Linked DNA regions of Homo sapiens: region 2 is linked to region 1. The links are contacts of gene promoters, found by promoter capture Hi-C in blood cells and fetal thymus (Javierre and others, 2016). All regions are on one chromosome and are shown on one strand. Each heading gives the region's core, a stretch centred on a gene start or on the middle of the fragment in contact. The rest is flanking DNA. Distances are from core to core; before and after follow the strand shown.

Region 1 (4,920 bases), core at 2,000-4,499:
AATTCTACAAGATAACCCCTATACATCATTGTTGTTTTGCAGAATACTTCCATAAGCAGCTCTCAGATCTCCCACATGGTCACTCAGCCTCCCGAAAGCCAGGTGTCCTTAGAGCTGGGCTTGACCTCTTCAATTACTGTAGGACTGACAAGGGTTCAACATGAGCTGGAATTTGATTTTATTCTTCCACTATTTGCCTTAAAGACTCTGCAGGGTCTAAAATGTAAAGCACTAAATGGTGCTTGTAGGAAAATCTACTCTTGCTTTGGGGTTATGCAAACTGTCAATATCTACAAATTAAGAAATAAAAGTGATCTCTATCTACATATATTATAGCTCATTCAGTGTTAAAAATACCCACAGTCTGCTCTTAATAGAGTAATATGTTTTTGTTAAGAATCCAGATCCAGAATCAAGCAGTTTGGCTCTCAAAAGCAGATGTTAAATTCTGTAATTAAAGATATTCATTAATTCCTTAATCTTTCCTTTAGAAACTACTGCTAAACATATGTTTGAGGTTGTGTTTTGTTTGTTTGTTTGTTTGTTTAATCTAGCCTCCTGCCAGTGGCAGACCCTGGTAGTACCTTTAGGTTTGTCTGAGCCCTTAGCCTCTACACACTTCTACCACTGAAGGCCTCTCGCTGATAAAATATCCTAAAATAAATACATGCTGGCCACCTTAGGCTTACCCATCAGAGTTCCTAGAAGCTTGCTGACTGATCATTGATTGTGAATGTCTCTGCCTGTGCAGACACAGCTCACAGGCTCCCACTCTGCCTAGGGAAATCCAACAGGAGAAGGAACAAAGCTGGAGTCCAGCAGGGGCTTCCAGATAGCACCACACACAAGACAATGCCCAAGGAGGTTGTTTCTGAATTGTTTTTGTTTTTGTTTTGGCTTTCAAAATTTTTATCAATATCACTTAGTAGGCTTAAGATAGCCAATAGTTGTTTTTTTGGAAAACCAGAGAAGAAAACCTTTATCTTTCTAGCAGAGAGGAATTCAGCAATGGAATGACAAGCAGAAAGTCACCTAGCCTCCATGGAAACTGACTTACCTGGACAATTACAATGGCAAGTACAAGGGACGATTAGACAAATTGATTGGCTGTCATTAAGTATACAAAACAATCAATTGATTGGCTGGCACGTTCATTCTCAGTCCTCTGAGCACATTGCTGCTGCGCACAATGGACCATTCTTGGGACCACTAGCCGCTGCATGCCAAAAAACCCACTTCCTCCGGGTGGAGTGAATCTTTCTCCTAACCTATACATGAGGCTCATAGCCATGGAGCTGATCAGAATGTGTCAGAAATCAGCAATGTATCTGAGATTGAAAATACAGTAAACCTAGATACTTTATACAGTTATGCACAATGAAAGAGGCTATTTACATTGAACTGAGCTAAGTCACATAAAAAACTCAATTCAATTCAAGGTTTTTCAACAGCTGCACTATTAACATTTTGGGCCAGATAATTCTTGAGAGGCTGTCCTGTGCACTGTAGGATGCTTAGCAGTGTGCCTGACCTCTACTCAATACATGGCAGTAGCACCTTACCCCCACCTCCTATAGTTGTGATAACTGCAAATGTCTCCAGACAGTACAAAATGCTCTTGGGGGTTGTGGGGCAAAACTGCCACCAGTCAAAAACCACTGGCTAAAGTATATGGAAGGAGTAGTGCACTGAGGTGTCCAAAGCCAAGTTACAAGGTAGGAAAGATAAATATCTTTGAGGAAGAACAAGAGCAAGGAAGATGGAAAAAGGCAGACTTGGCAATAAGTTAGCAAACACTCGAATGAATTTTGAAGAGGGACTTAACTATAGAAGTCTGTACATCTATCCCCCAGGGGTCTCCAAGAGCAGTGGTTCTCACCCCAGAGCATCAGCATCTCCTGGGAACTTGTCAAAAATGCAAATTCTCGAGCCTCTCCCAAGACCTACTGAATCAGAAACTCTGGAGGGTGGGGCCCAGCCCTCTGTTGTCTTGACAAGCCCTCTGGGGGATTCTGAAGCTCCCTGAAGTTTGAGAACCACTGTCCTACACTTGAGGCTCTGAATGTCCTGGTCCTAGTTCTCACCGTCATCAAGGAAGCTTCTCTCACTTCCGCACATCACAGTCTACCTACTTTTCAGGGACCAAAATCAATGCCTAAATTTTCTTCCTGTTTAGAAGGTCTTCTATTCTGCTCTTAGAGAACGTTACTGAGTCCCCAGCACCTAGAGGTCTACCCCAGCAGTGACCAGGGTGCAGGCTTTCATGCCTAAGTTGCACATGCTTCACATGCAAAATTTAGTCACCCATGGTCTTGTTTCAGGAACATTCCCTGTTGACTTAAATTGGCCATGGATAATAGATTAAAGCTTTCCTAAAAAAAAAATACATATAAAAAGTTAAGACCTGATCATATATTTTGCATGTGTCATACTCTTAGCCAGCCAGCTGCTACTCCCTGTCTTGGACCCACTGTGCTGGCGTGCTGGTGGTGGGCCACAGCACGGCTTCATCAGGAGGGACTGTTTTATGAAACTACTCCATGCTGTTTCTCTAGAGATCCCTTCTGGTAACTCACACACATTGCTCTGAAGAGCTCTGGTAAAAGTGACTCCTACAGGTACGAAGTTACAGTCAGATAGGAGGAATGAGCTCTGGCATTCCATTGCGCAGTAGGGTGACTGAAGGGCTAGAAGAGGGAATTTTGAATGTTTTCACCACAAAGAAGTAGTCAATGTCTGTGGCAATGGGTATGCCCATTATCCTAATTTGATCATTAAATGTTATACTCATGGATCAAAACAACACACGGTACCCCATAAATATGCACAATTATTATGTGTCAAATTAAAACCATTTGTAAGTGACTCCCTCAGTATAGGCTTGGAATGATCGTTTTCCAGTCAGTCCAAGACAGCCTACTTACCCGGGTGTCCCTCTCCCACAGACTCCGATGTGAACATGAAGACTCCTTCACTTAGAGAGTGGTCACACAAGCCATCCACCGGTCCATTCATCTTCTCACACTTCTCCACTCACGCTTCTTTCAGTGAACAATTTTGAGGCTGTGACTTTGCCTGAGTTTTTTTTTCTTCTTCTTCTTCTTCTTTCAACCCAACAGGCTTGTCTTTGGCAGAGCCACGGGGATCACTTCTGCCTAACTGCCTGTGAGCACGTGAGAACAGGCGAGGACTGCTGAGAAGGGAGGGAGTGGATGGAACACGGGATGTGTCCCTCCCTCCAGCTTGCCACAGCTTGCTCCTGAGCGACTCCTATATATGGAAAAGCGAAAGTGCCTGAAAAATCATGTGAGAAAATTGGAGGAGTCCATTTCCTAAGAGGGGGGTCTTCTTACCTGGAGGAATTTCAATTCTTATCCCTGACTTTCCAAACTCTAAGCACCTGGTCAAGGTAAGGTAAAGAAGGCTGTATAGTTCTGCAGAATTGAAGCTCCTTTGGGACTCTCCTTCAGCTCTTAGCCAATCTTGGTAGTGCTCCAGAGTTCACAACCCACCTTGGAGAGCAGGGGTCTGTGATCACCCAGAGATACAAGCAGGCAACAAGAAACTCTTTCTCAGAGATATGGTTTAGGCTAAGATTGCAACAGTGCCTTTGCTGTTGGGTGTCCCCTCCTCCCCTGCGTCTCATCTGGATTGGTCTCTTCCCATTCTATCTTCTCAGGGAGAGCAGGAGCACGCACCTGTATTCTGAGCCAGCTGTGATGTTACACAACAGATTCATTTTAGAGGAAAAGCTTTGAGTCCACGTGTTTCTGCTAACAGAAACCACCTAACCTGTCAACTTCTCTAAAAGGCTGGCAGGCATTTTAACAAGCAAGATCTTTAAAAAGTATCTATCTGGGGAGGTTACAGAGAACAATGTGTGTGTGTGTGTGTGTGTGTGTGTGTTTTTTTTAGAAAAAAATGCTTTTGAGAAATGGATTCATTACAGGGAAATTATCAAAGTCCAGTTTCCCAAAGCTTCCGGATTATAAACATCTACATATTCAGTTCTATACATGTAATAAACATCGTGTTCACATAACTCTTGCATTATTTTTTGCTTTGACCAAAAAAAGTAGTAAACAGGATTATATCTTTAGTTCATGTACTAAATGACAGCGTCTCACACTCTCAGATCCAGCTGCATCCTCAGACCCAAGGAACAATGGGGAATTGAGACCACAGAAAATGAGGATGGGTGGAGAAACCAGTTCCCACTAGAATGCAATAAAAAGTAATCAACCATAACCTTGTGCATCAAAGCTTGGACTGTGGGAAGCAAAAGTTAGGAAGCAATAGCCTCACCTAACAATTCTGGTGACCAAACCCCCCTCTGAGTTTATTATCAAGCATTTGGAAAAATTTTTTCTGGCACACATTCTGGTGCTCCAAAGCTTGAGTTTTGCTAACTGATGACCAAACATCATCCCTTCAGGGAATTAAAGCAGTATTAAGGTGACCTCTTCTGGAATAAAGTAAGGGATGTTACATATGCATAGCCAATCAACGGCATTTAACAAGGAGTGAACTGAAGTGCTTAGGCACAAGACTGTTGAAAGTTCAGAGAGGAAAAGGCCACTGGGAAGGGATGGACAAACGAGGAATCAAATAGGGACTTTAGACAACATCGCCTTGTCATTGCCAGCACACAGGACTCCTCTGTTTGCACTTAAGCTATTTCAACATTGCTGGCCCTTAGTAAATTTCTTCTGGGTACATTAGTTTTAAACCTAGAGGCAATATGAGCTAATGTTTAATTTGAACTGTAGAACTAGGTGACCTTAGCAGTTAAAATTGTATGATAACAATTATGGTCCAAATTTGATTTAAGAACAAGATGATGTGTAAGTAGCAGGTACTCTTCAAGGTTCCTAGAGTTATCAGGAAGACAGAAAACAAAGCAGTAGCTGCCTTCTGAAT
Region 2 (4,398 bases), core at 399-2,898, 690 kb before region 1:
TGTGAAGATTTCATGGACATTTATTACTTCCGCAATCAATACTCTTGTGATTTCCTATGCCTGTCTTTACTTTAATCTCTTAATCTCGTCGTCTTTGTAAATTGAGGATGTATATCCCCTCAGGACCATGTGATGATTGCATTGACTGCACAAATTGTTTGTAGAGCATGTGTGTTTGAACAATATGAAATCTGGGAACCTTAAGATCAGGGTAACAGCGATTTTCAGGGAACAAGGGAGATAACCTTAAAGTCTGGCTGCCTGTGGGCTGGGCAGGACAGAGCCATATTTCTCTTATTACCGAAAACGGATAAGATAAATATAACTGAATTATTTCGGTAAGGAATATTAATAATTTACTGCCCTGGGAAAAGAATGCATTCCCGGGGGGGCCTCTAAAATGGCCGCCCTGAGAATGTCTGCCTTATGCAGATGTAGATAGGGATGAAACACGCCCTAGTCTCCTGCAGCATCCCCAGGCTTGCTAGGATTTAGGAAATTCCAGCCTGGCGAATTCTAGTCAGACCAGTTCTCTGCCCTTGAACCCTGACAATGCGTGCACAGCGGGACATGGAAGTTCATTAGTGATTCTAGTTTTGCCCTGACCTTCTGCCTTGTGATCTTTTGTTGCCCTTGAAGCATGTGATCTCTGTGACCCGCACCCTACTCCTACACTCCCTCACTTTTGAAAATTGCTAATAAAAACTTGCTGCTTTTACAGCTCAGGGGGCATCACAGAACCTGCCAACATGTGATGTCTCCCCCGGACACCCAGCTTTAAAAATTTCTCTTTTGTACTTTTTCCTTTTATTTCTCAGACTGGCCGACACTTAGGGAAAATAGAAAAGGACTCATGTTGAATTATTGGGGGTGGGTTCCCCCGATACCCATGTTTATTTTAAAAAAATGAAAAAGAAAAAAATCATAAAGTTTGTGTGGAACTATAAAACACCAAGTAGTCAAAGTAATCCTGAGCAAAAAATGAAAAGTTGAAGGCATCACATTACCTGACTTCATAATGTACTACAAATCTATGATAACCAAAACAGCATAGTACTCGTATAAAAACAGATGCATAGACCAATGGAACAGAATAGAGAACACAGAAATAAATTTACATATTTATAGCCAACTGATTTCTGGCAATGGCACCAATAACATACATTGGGGGAAAGGACAATAAATGTTCAATAAATGGTGCTGGGAAAACTGAATATTCATATGCAGAAGAATGAAACTAGACCCCTATCTCTTATACATTAAAAAAAAACATGAAATGGATTAAAGCCTTAAACATAAGACCCAAAGGTATGAAACTAGTAGGAAAAAGCATAGGAGAAGTGCTTCAGGATATTGGTCTGGATGAAGATTTTATGGAGAGACCTCAAAAGTACTGGGAACAAAAACCAAAAATAAGCCAATATGGTTATATCAAACTAAAAAGCTTCTGCACAGAAAAGAAAACAATCAACTGAGTGAAGAGACGGCCTGCAGAGTGGGAGAAATATCCACAAGCTATTCATCCAATAAGGGATTAATATCCTGAATATAAAAGGAACTCAAACAATTCCACAGCAAAACATTCAAATAATCCAATTTAAAAATAGGCAAATGATCTGAACAGACACTTCTCAAAAGAAGACATAAAAATGGCCACGTATATAAATGACACTCAATATCTTTATTCCTAAGATAAATGCAAATGAAACCAAAATAAATTATCTCACCCCAGGTAGACTGGCTTTTATCAATAAGACAAAAAAGAATAAATACTGGTGCGGGTGCAGAGAAAAGGGAACTCATACACTGTTGGTGGAAATGGAAAGTACTACAGCCATTATGGAAAGCAAAATGAAGCTTTCTTGAAAACCTAAAACTAGAACTATCATATAATCTAGCAATCCCACTACTGGGTATTCAAAGAAAAGGAACCCAGTATGTTAAAGAGGTATCTACCCTCCTATGTTTATTGCGGAGCTATTCATAATAGCCAAGATATGGAATCAACCTAAGTGTCTATCAGTGAATGAATGGATTTAAAACATGTAGTAACTAAACACAATGGAATACAGTTCATCCATAAGAAAGAATAAAATTCTGCCATTCATAGCAACATGGGTGAGCCATTATGTTAAGTGAAATAAAGCCAGGAAAAGAAAATTAAACACAGCATGTTCTCACTCATTTGTGGATGCTAAGAAAACTTAGTTAATCTCATAGAAGTAAACATAGAACAGTAAGTAAACAGTAGAACAGAATATATTAGAGGCTGGGAAGATTAAGGGGAATGAGAAATGGGAAAGGTGGGGCAATGGGTACAAAATTACAGCTAGATAGGAGAAATGAGTTGTAGCCTTCTTTAGCGCTGTAGGGTGACCATAGCCAACAAAAAAATTATGTATACTTTCAAATAGCTAAAAGAGAGGATTTTGAATGTTATCAACACAAAACAGTAAGTTTTTGAGGTGATGAATATGCTGCTTACCTTGATTTCATCATTGCACGTTACATACATGTATCAAAATAGTCCACTGTGCCCATATGTATGTAAAATAATTGTGTCAAAAATAACATTTTTTAAATTAAAAAGATAGTAAAGAATATATTACCAGAAGTAAAAACAAACAAACTCCAAGAAAAGACTATAGTTACAATTATATCCCTATGTGTCAATCTGAAAAGATGGCTGGCATATGTAAGAGAAAACACTAATTGTAGAACAGTATATGCAGTATGATCTTATTGGTGCAAAGTAAGAGAATGTGTGTGTGTGTGTCTGCACGTGTGTGTTCCTGAGCCTATTTCTTTGAAGACAGTTGCTGCCACCTGCCAGTTTCAATTCCTCCAAGGTGCAGAATGGGAAAACCTCTCTCCCTCTCCTCAAAACCTCAGTAAAGCATGATGTATTTCTCTGGGGTTTGGAAGGTTCAAAATGTTCAGGGCAGAAAGAAGGGTGACAAGGCTGCATTGGCAAAAATGAAAATAAAAACAAGTAATGTGATTTTTAAGGCAAATTGGATGCTATTTCTAGGCAACAGAAATATATTTACAGTGTTATTCTTTTTAAAAATAAAATGGCATTATTAGAGAGGCATCAATGTAATATATATGTATGTAAACATACAGCACACAATATATGTGTGTGTATATATATGTATATAATGCATACACACATATTTGCTTAGTTTGCTGGCTGCCTCAGCAAAGAAAAGCCTCAACTTCCATCCCCTTCATGTGGCTGAGCTGTCCCTTAGATTCTGACATTATAAGCGATTTTGAAATATATCCATGATTAGTAAATTAATTTGTGCATTCCCTTGTCTTCATGTACAGGTAGAATAAGCATGTTCCTCTGACTCTGGGAAGGTTCTAGCAGAGGACTGAGCTGGAAAGAAGATTTCTGGTAATTCTGGCAATCCATGTAACCCCTGTCATCCTCAGCTGACTGAAGTATGGAATGGGGATTTACTCTCTGTACAACTCATAGAGTGCTGTGATGATCCAAAGTGACAGAAAGATCCAGCAGTCACAGACAGCCTCCTCCTACTGCTAGCACCCAGGGCAGCTGGAAAAGGGGGCAGGGGAAGGGTCCCCTGAGCACTAAGAGAGAGGCCTCAAATATGCAGAGAAGCCCATGCACTGTCCTTAGTGCCTGTACATGGCCTCCACTCTGCACCCCTTTGAAACGGGAGAGTCCCCTGATCCCCCTCACAGGATGCATGACAGGGGTGTGGCTCACCTGTTTGGTTGCCCCACTGCTCAAACCCCTAGGGGGAGCATGCAGATGGGCAGGTTCAGAGGCTGGGGTGAGTGCTTTGGGCTCCAGCTGTTCAGTAGAGTCTAGGGATGGGTGCCTGTAATCCTGGTGTTACAAAACTCTTTCAGTTTTGCATACGCAGGTGGCTTGAGTGTTAATCAGCTCAATGGACCCTCTGCCTTATCCTAAGGGCAGAGGGCCTGTGTGACAGCTTTCTGTATCCCAAGCTTTCACCCAGCATCCTGGAAGAATCAGATCACATGTGGGCTTGAAGGATGAGTGCAAGATTTTATTGAGTGGTGGAGGTGGCTCTCAGTGAGATGGATTGGGGACTGGAAAGGGAAATGGAGTGGGAAGGTGATCTTCCCTTGGAGGCGGGCCATCCAGTAGCTGGTATCTTCTCCGATCGCCCCTGGGCAAACTCCCCTCAGTGTTCAGATGTTCCTCCTCTTCTCTCTCTCTCTGCCACGTCGTTCCACTGTCCATCTGCTTGTCTGCTAGTCTGCTGGTCTGCTTCTGGAGCCTGGGGTTCAAGGTTTATATGGTTGCAGGATAGGGGTTGTGGCAGAACAAAAGGCAACTTTTTGGTCATGAAAACAGAAATGTCTTTTCTCATTTAGGGCCACAGGTCTTCAGGCTTG

The links. The method cuts DNA at HindIII sites, captures the fragments that hold promoters and counts their contacts. A CHiCAGO score of 5 or more calls a contact.
Region 2: a contact is called between a fragment that was not itself captured here and the fragment with the promoter of MAT1A in region 1, in 3 of 17 cell types (M1 macrophages, M0 macrophages and M2 macrophages). The highest score is 5.8, in M1 macrophages.

Annotation. Positions count from the first base shown.
Region 1 is chr10:80,286,409-80,291,328 of GRCh38, forward strand. It overlaps MAT1A (methionine adenosyltransferase 1A), which reads right to left and starts at 3,250. Exons shown (of 9, transcript NM_000429.3): 1 at 2,925-3,250. The coding sequence starts at 3,015. RefSeq lists an enhancer at 3,085-3,379. The HindIII fragment of the contact is 1,385 bases long and covers 2,366-3,750 here.
Region 2 is chr10:79,599,338-79,603,735 of GRCh38, forward strand. LOC124902469 (a long non-coding RNA gene) reads right to left here. Exons shown (of 2, transcript XR_007062215.1): 2 at 4,021-4,280. Among named protein-coding and RNA genes, the nearest start is that of SFTPA1, 9.4 kb to the right of the region's middle. The HindIII fragment of the contact is 413 bases long and covers 1,443-1,855 here.